Linked DNA regions of Homo sapiens: all the other regions are linked to region 2. Evidence: promoter capture Hi-C in 16 types of primary human blood cells and fetal thymus (Javierre and others, 2016). All regions are on one chromosome and are shown on one strand. Each heading gives the region's core, a stretch centred on a gene start or on the middle of the fragment in contact. The rest is flanking DNA. Distances are from core to core; before and after follow the strand shown.

The links. The method cuts DNA at HindIII sites, captures the fragments that hold promoters and counts their contacts. A CHiCAGO score of 5 or more calls a contact.
Region 1: a fragment that was not itself captured here is called in contact with the fragment with the promoter of DHRS3 in region 2 in 2 of 17 cell types (activated CD4 T cells and non-activated CD4 T cells); the score reaches 5.6 in activated CD4 T cells.
Region 3: a fragment that was not itself captured here is called in contact with the fragment with the promoter of DHRS3 in region 2 in 1 of 17 cell types (activated CD4 T cells); the score reaches 6.4 in activated CD4 T cells.

The regions. Positions count from the first base shown.
Region 1 is chr1:12,490,438-12,493,902 of GRCh38, reverse strand. The region is part of intron 67 of VPS13D (vacuolar protein sorting 13 homolog D); the gene reads right to left. Among named protein-coding and RNA genes, the nearest start is that of SNORA59A, 15 kb to the left of the region's middle. The HindIII fragment of the contact is 5,953 bases long and covers 1-3,465 here.
Region 2 is chr1:12,615,952-12,619,787 of GRCh38, reverse strand. It overlaps DHRS3 (dehydrogenase/reductase 3), which reads left to right and starts at 1,578. Exons shown (of 6, transcript NM_004753.7): 1 at 1,578-2,634. The coding sequence starts at 2,440. RefSeq lists enhancers at 58-689, 690-1,321, 1,322-1,953. The HindIII fragment of the contact is 18,116 bases long and covers 1-3,836 here.
Region 3 is chr1:12,519,092-12,522,668 of GRCh38, reverse strand. No RefSeq gene overlaps it. Among named protein-coding and RNA genes, the nearest start is that of LINC02766, 4.7 kb to the left of the region's middle. The HindIII fragment of the contact is 2,047 bases long and covers 1,220-3,266 here.

The DNA of each region.
Region 1 (3,465 bases), core at 757-3,256, 130 kb after region 2:
TCTCTAAAACTCAACTAAAAATTTACCTTCTCAGGTCCAAGTTGGTAGGCTGTGGGTAGGGGGAGAGTATTTGAAGTCACTGCATATGAACAAATTTAGTTCCAATCTTAAAGAATTACTAAAATAATGTAAAAAGCTAACAGTAAGCTAGTGTTTTCAAACCTCGTAAGCCAGCAAAAAGTTTAAAGTGAAGTTCTTCAGCCCAGGCCACTGTGTGACGACGCTGTTTTCTTCATCTGTTGATGTGACACTGTACGTTCAAGTAGGCCTTTTAAACGAGTATGACCATGTAACAGCAGTCCTACATTTGTTCATGCTCAGTGACAGTGTGTCCATTTTTAAGTGACTTTCCTGTATGTTCCAGTAAGCCTATGAGCACCTGGAGGGAAAGGACTCTAGTCTTTTTTTTTTTTTTTTTTTGAGATGGAGTCTCGCTCTGTCACCCAGGCTGGAGTGCAATGGTGCAATCTTGGCTCACTGCAAGCTCTGCCTCCCAGGTTCATGCCATTCTCCTGCCTCAGCCTCCCGAGTAGCTGGGATTAGAGGCGCCCGCCACCATGCCCAGCTAATTTTTTTATATTTTTATTAGAGACGGGGTTTCACCGTGTTAGCCACGATGGTCTCCTGACCTCGTGATCCACCCGCCTCGGCCTCCCAAAGTGCTGGCATTACAGGCGTGAGCCACCGCACCCGGCCAGTCCTTTTTTTTTTTTTTTTTTAATAACTGGTCTTTAGGACTGGGCTTATTATCCTCAGTTCAAGGCCCACTCTCATCATTGGGCTCTCTTTATTTATTTGAAATAAACATCTGTGAAAGCAAAAAAAAAAAAACTCCATCACTCAATCGTGGACCACAAGTTGGTCTTCTGCCACCCCAAATCCCTGTTCCTCCTTTAACTAAGGCAGCCGCTGTTCTGAATCTTGTGTTTCTCATTCCTGTGCTTTTCTTTTTTATGTAGCCTTACCACATTTCAAAGGATGCTCCAGTACATTCTTGTTATGTTCTTTGGGTTTAGTTTTGGGCTTTTGAAAAAGGATGTCGCTGTCACATTGCTAAGATTCAGGTATTCTTTTGTGTGTAGCCATGATTAATTCACCATGTCTCTGCTTTGTTCATATTCCATTGTATGACTATCCCATGATATATCCATCTTCCTGTTGATGGCACATGGGTTTCTTCCAGGTTCTGCTATTACAAATGATGCTATTATGAACATTCCTGTACGTGTTTCCTGGTGAACTTTGAGAATCTATCTAGGGGGAATTTGCTGGCTCACAAGATATAAACGTTCACTTAACAAGATAATCCAAACTGCGTTCGAAGTGGCTGAACCATTTTTACATTCCTGCCAATGAGGCATTTAAGGGGCCCTAGCGATCTATATCCAACACTTGGTATTGTCTAGGACAGCACTGTCCAATACATAGCTACTGACCACGTGTGGCTACTGAGCATGTGAAATGTGGCCAGTGTAACTAAAGGACTGAATTTTAAATTTAAATTGTATTTTGGATAGCACTGGTCTAGACTCTTGAATCTTTGCTGCTTGAATGGATATTAAATGTCTTCTTATTGTTTTTTCATTCCCATCTTCTCCTTTCAGCCTATAGCCTACAGCATAGTGGTACCCAATAAATACATAAATTAATAAATTTAAAAAAGTGGAGTAGCTGCAGATCCTGCCATTGGTGCTACAGCAGCAGATCAACGTCTAAACGACTCAGGCCCACCACTGTTAGGCCTGCGGCCTCCCTGGTGGCTTTGTTCCTTTCCTCTGACCACCTTTGCTGCTACTTGGGCAGGGTCTTGATACAATAATTCTGGGGACAATGGATCACCGAACAAGAGGTGGCCAAAATCCACCCACTCACCTCTCCTTAGTCGACAGCATCTCTTATGAACCAACACTCAACCTAGGAGTCTGTTCAGCGCACATGCAGCAACTCTGCCTCCACAAACCTTTGTTTGGCCAAAGGTCTGCGGTATATTTAATTGCTGCCAGCTGGAGCTTGTCGGCCATGTTAAGCCCTCAGCTGCTGCGGTTTACAAATTTCACAGTGTATAGAAAGAAGCAGTCCTTCCAGTCAACCAGCTAATCCAGAATGTCAGCACCAAACCAACTTGAGCTTTGAACTCTATGAAAATGTCAGGGAGTCTGCTGTACAGCATGGAGGACTCTTCCCCCAGGGAAGGGGCTGTGGATACAGTGGCTGATACACTGCAGATATCCTTCCAGTGAGGGCAATCAATACAGAGTGTGCCTGCATCTGGCCATTGCTATCTGATATACACCGGAGGCCCAAAACCAATGATCAGAGTAGTAACAACTCATGTCTTTTAAAAAAAAAATCAACAGTAAATCCAAACAAGGTGACACAGGGAGATCCAGCCAATTCCACTTGGTTGATCTTGCCTTTCAGCCTGAAAGTCAACATTTAGCCAGGCATTAATTATTCGTAGCTTATACGATGAGTAACTATGTCATAGGTCTGTTAGTTAAGACAGATGCTGTGCACACATACACATACCCCTACACAGCTTAATTTGGTTGAGAAGTCTGTCATGGCCAATGTCTATCAGCCAAGTGATGTTCAAAAACAATCAGTAAGTGAGTAGAAAGTGTATGTCACACATGTGACGTTAGCATCATAGAATGTTTATTCAACTGATGGCTGCCATCTTCCTTAAGGGTTGTGTGATGGGTTGTGCTTGCATTCACTTTATGTATGTGTCCAGGGCTTTTGTTTTAATCAAGTATCTTACTGATATATACTGTGCTCGAGTGTGCACAATTAGACTGAGAACGAAGGTCAATCCAGACTACCTCTTCCAATACTGGTCACTGATAACAGCTACAAGATACCAGGGTTCTTGACCAAATGGCCTAATCAAACATTTGTCATTTCTCTAAGAGAAACCCCGCAGTCTGTCTAAATAGTACTGTCTGCAGTAGAGTAGACGAATTGGTGAAAAACCCTCTGGTATCCACAGCAGTACAATGTCTGCAAGCCCAAGAAGCCCACCATGCCGTGGGCTGCATCTGTCTTGGACCTGTAGCTCCCACCATGCCATGGGCTGCATCTGTCTTGGACCTGTAGCTCCCACCATGCCGTGGGCTGCATCTATCTCGGACCTGTAGCTCCCACCATGCCGTGGGCTTCATCTATCTTGGACCTGTAGCTCCCACCAGGCCGTGGGCTGCATCTATCTCAGACCTGTAGCTCCCACCATGCCATGGGCTGCATCTATCTCAGATCTGTAGCTCCCACCATGCTGTGGGCTGCATCTATCTCGGACCTGTAGCTCCCATCATGCCATAGGCTGCAACTACCTCTGACGTGTAGCTCCCTCCTCTTGGCCACATGCATCTACTTCTAAAGACGAAGTGGAAAAGCATTTCTTCTCCATAAACAGATTTTACTCCTTTCAGTGCAAACTGTAATCAGAGAAGACTCTATTAGAGG
Region 2 (3,836 bases), core at 329-2,828:
TGGGGGCGTTAGGGGGGTGGGGGGGTCTCTGCTCTGCAACCCTTAGCTGAACCCCATCCTCCACTTCTCTCCTCCCGTCTGGTCAGAGTGGGAAGAGGTTTGGATTGGGATCCCCCCTCCTGCACTTCCTGGCTGGGTAACCTGGACGATGGGATAACAGTCCCCCGATTGCAAGGTCAGGGGAAGGACTGTGTCAGAATATAGGCCCTCAGTGCAGGACAGTTGCTCATCCTAAGCCTCTCCTGCCTTTTGCTCTTCCAGTGGCTTTTCACCCAGAAGGAAGATCCTCCCCTGCAGAACCTCTCCCCAGAACTAGGTCTTTGCAGGTGACGAGGTAATCCCAGCCTCCCCTCCCCGCAGATCAGCGTTTTTCGAAGTGACTTTCTCACCAGGCGGAGCATTGAAAGTACCGATCCCAGCGCACCCAGCCCTGCTGAATCAGAATCTCTGGGGGTGAGGCCCAGGAATCGCCGTCTGAACAAGTCGCGGGCTGGAAACGGCTGCCCCAGATTACAGGGCAGCTCCCTGCTTCGCTCTCGCTCCTCCGGCCCCGGGAACGTGCAGGGGGGCGGGAGGCAAGTCCCATCAGCACTTTGAACTGGGGCTGCTTTTTAGTGACTCACCTCCCAGACTTCCTGCAACAGACAACTCTAAATAGCTCGGTCCCACCCTCCAGCAGGGGAGACATTCCGGTCGGGAAGGGCAGGAGGTTAGAAGGTGGGTGCCCCGCCAGGGCAGTCCAGGGAGACCCAAGGACAGGAGACGCTGGCTGCACAGCACAGGGGCGCACGAATAGGACGTTTTGTTTACAGGCTTTTGTTATTAAGGAAATTGGTGTCAGTCAAGGTAATTCTAGCTCAGATGAGCAATAAATATGCTCCCAGCTAATCTTGTGGGGATTTTATTGGCACTCGGAGCAGAGGTTCCTTTACCTTGACTACTCCCTCCCCTCAAAGCAAAGTCCTGCTCCCCAGCGGCTTCCCCCTAAGCATCGTGAGGCACTTGGGTCAGGCTTTTAAAAGTCCACTCTACGTGAACACAGAAGAGGTCCGGGCAAAGGTGAGGAGTGGCTTCCTGATCCTACCTGGAGGCCGAGGATGACCAAATGACCTGAAATAAAACCCTGGGTGACCTGGTTGGATCAAGGCATACGCAAGCTCCCCCGGGCCTGCTCCACACTCGGGGTGATCACCTGGCCCGCGGGCGGCCCGGGCAAGGAGGAACGTCTCGAGAAGGCAGCCGGCTCGCCGGAGTCGGTTCCAGCGTGTTCGAGTTACAGCTGCGAGCCCTCAGGGACACCGGCGGCAAGTCCCGGCTTGCAGAGAGGGGAGCCAGTCCCGGGAGAGCGCGAGTCCCGGCGAGCCCGAGTGCGCGCCTTATGCGCGCTCCCCGCGACGGCGCAGGGGGAGGGGAGGCCGCAGCAGCCACTCAGAGGAACGGTAGTGAAGCCTCCCAACAACTTTAACTGTCAATCAGACTTAATGGGGTATTGAAAAAATGGGGGAAAAAGGGGCCGCCCTCTCCGCGACGCGGCTGCCCGGGGAGCGAATGAATAGGGCCGCGCAGACCAAGGCGTCCGATCCACGCGCGCTCCACACCCGGACCCTCTCCAAGTTGGAAAGGACAAAAAGAAGGCAATAAATGCTAAAAAGGGAGAGAAGGGGAGCTGGATCGAGCGGCAACTCCCAGCCTCTGCTGGAACAGAGAGGGAGGGAGGGAGCCGGAGCGAGCGAGCGCGCGCGAGGGCGAGCGCTGCACGTAAAGAAACTGACACCCGGACCCCCCACTTCTCCTGCACGTTGCTGGCAATCAGATCGCGTTTAAGCAATTTCCTGAGCCCAAGAATAGCAATGAGTCGGGAGACTTTCGCGGGCTGAAATTGGGAGCTCCAAGCACTTTTTCCCCCCACTTTTTTTTTTTTTTTTTTTCTGGAGACGGGGTGGGGGTGGGGGCGCTACAATTTGGAATCAGCTTTTTTTTTTTTTTTTTTTTTTTTTTTAATCTTGCACTTTGAAACCGCGGGACCGAGGCAGGGTGCGCGCGTGTGGTTGGTGCCTTTTTTTTTTTTTCTTCCCCTCCCTAAACTCCTCTGTCAGTCTGTAAACATTACCTGAGAATTCCCCAGCCGAAACGGCTGCTGGGGCAAGAAACTTCTTGTTAGAACTTTCCACCTCCGGCTTCCCCCTCCACCTCTTTTACCGTCCCAACCTTAGGAGACGCTTTTTCTCCCCCAGAGGAGAATTTATCTTTTTTTTTTTTTTTTTTTTCTTTTTCTCACCCGGTGCTTTGCATTTGGGAAGAGGTGATTTCAAGAGTGGCCAGGTGGGACGCCTCTCTCCTCCTTATTCGGTTTACTATTTATTGTTCGGGGTGTTTTTTAATTCCTGTATTGCTCGGCCCGGGGAGTTTCGCCCCCTGCCCGGCTCCGCGGCGCGGAGGATGGTGTGGAAACGGCTGGGCGCGCTGGTGATGTTCCCTCTACAGATGATCTATCTGGTGGTGAAAGCAGCCGTCGGACTGGTGCTGCCCGCCAAGCTGCGGGACCTGTCGCGGGAGAACGTCCTCATCACCGGCGGCGGGAGAGGCATCGGGCGTCAGCTCGCCCGCGAGTTCGCGGAGCGCGGCGCCAGAAAGGTACCAGGCACTGCGACTCCAGGGAGTGGGGGGCCGCAGGGGCGGGGGTAAGCCCACCTGCTGCCGCTGCGGGATCCCGCGCCCGGGAGCTGAGAGTCGCCGGCCACCCCACTTCTCCGCGCCACCCACGAGTGCTGAGCTAGTCGGTTTCACCTTGTAAATTTCCCGGGCACCGGACTGTCTTTTTTGGCAGGTTCAGAGTTGATCCGCTCCTTTGGGATCGGTGGCTGGCTGACTGGCTATTCACCCCCACCCTGAAACCTAAGAGACCCACCATTTCCCACATTCCTGCCTCCCAAAGGAAGGTGTTGTGCCCCCCTCCCCCGCCTTCCCCCCTTTTTCTTGCCGCCACCCTGGTGAGTGCAGGGTGTGCGCACTCCTGGGTAGAGCTGGGAGCCGCCTGCTAGCTGGCGCCTCGTATTTTCCTTGGCAACCCGCTACCCAGCCCCAACCTGGGCGGCTGCAGCTCTGAAGACACGAGAGAGGGTACTTGGTTTGGGTTTGAAAAGGGAAGAGCGGTCTTGTATGCAGTAGTCTGGCCGGACCGACACTGAGAGGCCCAGGTGTTTGGAAAGCAGGAAAGAGGAGGCCAGGGTAAGCAGCTACTGATAAAGAGCCCTTGTTCTCACCTTCAACCCTGTCCCCTCCCCCCCAGTACACCCCCCAGGGATCCCTCCCCATTTAGCTGGAAGGTGGTGCTGCAAGGAGGGTCCTGCCCACCAAACACGGCCTTTAACTTTTTGGTGGTCCTGGCACCCCTTGCTCCAGGTTTTGGAGACCTGGTGCCAGAGTGGGGAGAGTGGGCAGGCTGTCACCCAACTCCCAGCCCAGGCCAGGCTGACTCACGCGGTGACCAGAGCCATCAGGAGAGGGAGGCAGGCCAGGCTGTCTCCAGCCAGCCCTGTGAAGAGGAAGAGCGAAAACAGGGAATTAGTTTGAAACTTAAACTGTTGTGAACTAGGGGGGTGAAAGGGCCGCAAAGCCAGCTGATCTGACATGGAGCCGCATACCTTGGGGATTAAGTAAATATGTACTGTAGAAAACCAAACCTGCATGTAATTCCAGGTTGCTTTTGTTTTGTTAAATACTGCCCTGAGATTTACAATTCCTCCGGGGTGGCTCTGACTGGGACTGAACTTTGGAGCCTGAACTATCAGCCAAAGCCGATCCGATTAACTCTTCCCTAGCCGGGCTGGCCGGAG
Region 3 (3,577 bases), core at 994-3,493, 98 kb after region 2:
ATTGCTATATATTTTTTATATTTACTTAATGATTTGAATTTTGGTCTTTTGGTGATAGCCCTATATAACAAATGTCTATTTAAATAATTCTCCAGTAACTAATAAGTGGATTTTAAGAAGATCATCAGCAAAAGGTACACTGAAATTGTGGCAATTATAAAATCATACTGCTAACATAACAATTTTCTTTACATTTCATGGATGAACTAAAATTTGCACTTACCAGACAAAAAGATTGCCCTTCCTAGTCTGGATTCTGTTTCACTCTCTAAGGTTTTTTTTTTGAGACAGAGTCTCTCTCTGTCGCCCAGGCTGGAGTGCAGTGGCACGATCTCAGCTCACTGCAACCTCTACCTCCCGAGTTCAAGCGATTTTCCTGCCTCAGCCTACTGAGTAGCTGGGATTACAGGTGCGCACCACCATGCCCAGCTAATTTTTTTGTTTTTTTAGTAGACATGGGTTTTCACCATGTTGGCCAGGCTGGTCTCAAACTCCTGACCTCAGGCGATCCACCTGCCTTGACCGACCTCCCAAAGTGTTGGGATTACAGGCATGAGCTACTGCGCCTGACCTCACTCTTTAAGTTTTAAAACACAAATAAACTGCAAGTGAGGTCGGGTGCAGTGGCTCACACCTGTAATCCCAGCGCTCTGGGAGGCTGAGACAGGCAAATCTCAGCTTGAGGTCAGGAGTTCGAGACCAGCCCGGCCAACATGGTGAAACCTCGTCTCTACTAAAAATACAAACATTAGCTGGATGTGGTGGTGCATGCCTGCAATTTCAACTACATGGGAGGCTGAGGCAGGAGAATGCTTGAACCCGGGAGGTGGAGGTTGCAGTGAGCCGAGATCGCATCATGGCACTCCAGCCTGGCAACAGGAGTGAAATTCCGTCTCAAAAAAAAATAAATAAATAAAATAAAACCGCAAGTGGTCACACAGAATGACAGCATTGAAGCAACTCAAGTCCCATTGCTTTGTCTTAAAATCTGTTTAAATGCAGGAATATGTTGGAACAGGGGGGTTAGGGACTCCACTGTGCCCCGAGCAAGCCTGAACAATTCCAAACCATTAGAACATTCTCTTGAAATGAAGGTGTGTTAGCTGAGTCCACGCTTGGTGGGCAAACCACTGCATAACCGGCAGATCTCAGAATTAATGTCCACGTGGTGTACAAGATTTACTAAAGGAAAAGTACTACAGTGTACTAATTTAAAGCTTGCCTACATATCTACTAAAACTCACTGGAATTTAAACTCACTAAAGATTTTTGAGGGGAGGAGAATTTTATCTCCACCCCAAATCTCCAGATTTTGTTTAGAATTGCCAAGAGCACAGTGATAGTAAAAAGCAGCCGGCTTTTAGTCCTAGTTTTATTATTGTTTTTTAATTGTTTGCAGGCTGGATCTGCACTCTCTCCAGCACGCAGGCTCCTACTCCCACCGACCGCCCTTGTAAGTCACTGTCATGGGCCAAAGTTCCATGGCCACTGTGTCATACTCACGATCTCTCCTTAACCTGCCATTGGTGCTTCATTCTGCCTAACTTTGCTCTGTCTGAAATTCCAACAAAACTTACAGGCAATGTCCTCTACATTGTTGAATACAACATATGTCTTACTTGGCGTTTTAGTGCCATGCAATCCAGTTGACTGTGTCTTCCTTCTCGAAGCACTGTCTTTTTTTTTTTTGAGATGGAGTCTCACTCTGTCACCCAGGCTGGAGTACAGTGGCATGATCTCGGCTCACTGCAAGCTCCACCTTCCGGGTTCACGTCATTCTCCTGCCTCAGCCTCCCGAGTAGCTGGGACTACAGGCACCTGCCACTGCGCCTGGCTAATGTTTTTTTGTATTTTTAGTAGAGACGGGGTTTCACCGTGTTAGCCAGGATGGTCTCGATCTCCTGACCTCGTGTTCTGCCCACCTCGGCCTCCCAAAGTGCTGGGATTACAGGCGTGAGCCACCGCGCCGGGCCGAAGCATTGTCTTCTATTTTGCCAGCCACCTCTCCAGTTGCTCCTTCGCCATCTCCTTTGCTCGTGCTCCTACACACATCCATCACATGCTGGAGCTCCTTAGGGCTTGTCCAGGCCCCCTTCTCATCTCAAATTCTACTCTCATTATCATCAAATCTGCCCCCATGGTTTAAAACACATCACTGGTTGCTTAAGCTAGAAACCCAGAAGCTACCCTTGATATTTCTTTTTCCCTAATCTCTCTCTCTTTTTTTTTTTGAGACAAGTCTTGCTCTGTCTCCCAAGGTGGAGTGCAGTGGTGCAATCACGGCTCACTGCACCCTTGACTTTAGGACTCAAGTAATTCTCCTGTCTTGGTCTCCTTAGTAGCTGGGACTACAGGCGTGTGCCACCAGGGCCAGCTAATTTTTTTTTTTTTTTTTAGAGATGGGGTCTTGCTATGTTGCCCAGGCTGGTTTTGAAGTTTCAAACTCCTGGGCTCTGGTGATCCTTCCGCCTCCATCTTCCAAAGTGTTGGGATTGCAGGCGTAAGCCACGGTGCTTGGCCCCTAATCTGTGCATGAAATCAATCTCACTGGTTTTTCTGTTCTCCCTCAAAAACATATCCGGATTCTATTGGCTCCCTTCCATCTCTCTGCCCCCATCCTCATCCAAGCCTCCTTATTTCTTGCCTGGGCTATTGCAGCTGCTCTCCACTACTAACTCATGCTACCCTGTCTCCATCTGCAGCCAGACAGGTATTTCTTTTGCGATGCCAACCTCACTGTGGAACCCTCTGCTTATAGCCTCTCCTAGCGTGGCTTACAGAGTCCAACATGACCTGGCCCGGCTGCGCCCCCCACCTCCTCTCATTGTGCTCCAGCTAGTCCAGGGATCCTGGGACTCAGCTGTGCTAAGCAGGTCCCTGCCTCAGGGCTCCAAAAGGACACTGTCCTCTTCCCGGTGCCTCATGAACTCTCCTCACTCTTGCTGGACTCAGACCATCTGCCTCTTTCTCGGTTGAGTCTTCCCTGTCACACCCTGACGTCCACCACTAGTATAGCTAGCTCAGTGAGGGCAGCAAGAATGCCACCCTATTCACTGTACATCCACGCATCCAGTACCGAGCCTGGCACCCAGTACGTGCTCAAGAGCAGGGGCTGGAAGTGCCTCCCTGTTGCTGGAGGGGCAGAGGGTTAGGTTCTGTAGCATCAGACTCACGTGTGTTGTCTGGGAACACCTAGGGATGCTCGATCTCTGTGGACAAACCATGGAACAGATCGAGAGTTGCCTTTCTGCAGGCTTTGCCAAGCTTCCCAGAAGTCTCTGTGTACCCCTTAAGCATCTTAGGAAAATACGCCCAAAAGGCAGGAATTTTCCCTCTAAAGTGGCCCTGGGAGCTGTTTCAGCACCCGCCCCCTCCCAGCACCGCCCCCTCCCGTCTCCCACACACCCCCTCCCTTGGGGGCTCACTTGCCCGGGGTTTCCAAGAGCCAAGTTGGTCTAGATTCACACATTTCCTCCAAGTCAAAACGTACCCGTGACCTTTCTGTGCTTTTGAGTCAGACCAGAATAAGCATGAGGTGTGAAGTTTTATGAGCCCCTGGGAGCTGCTGACGCTGGCC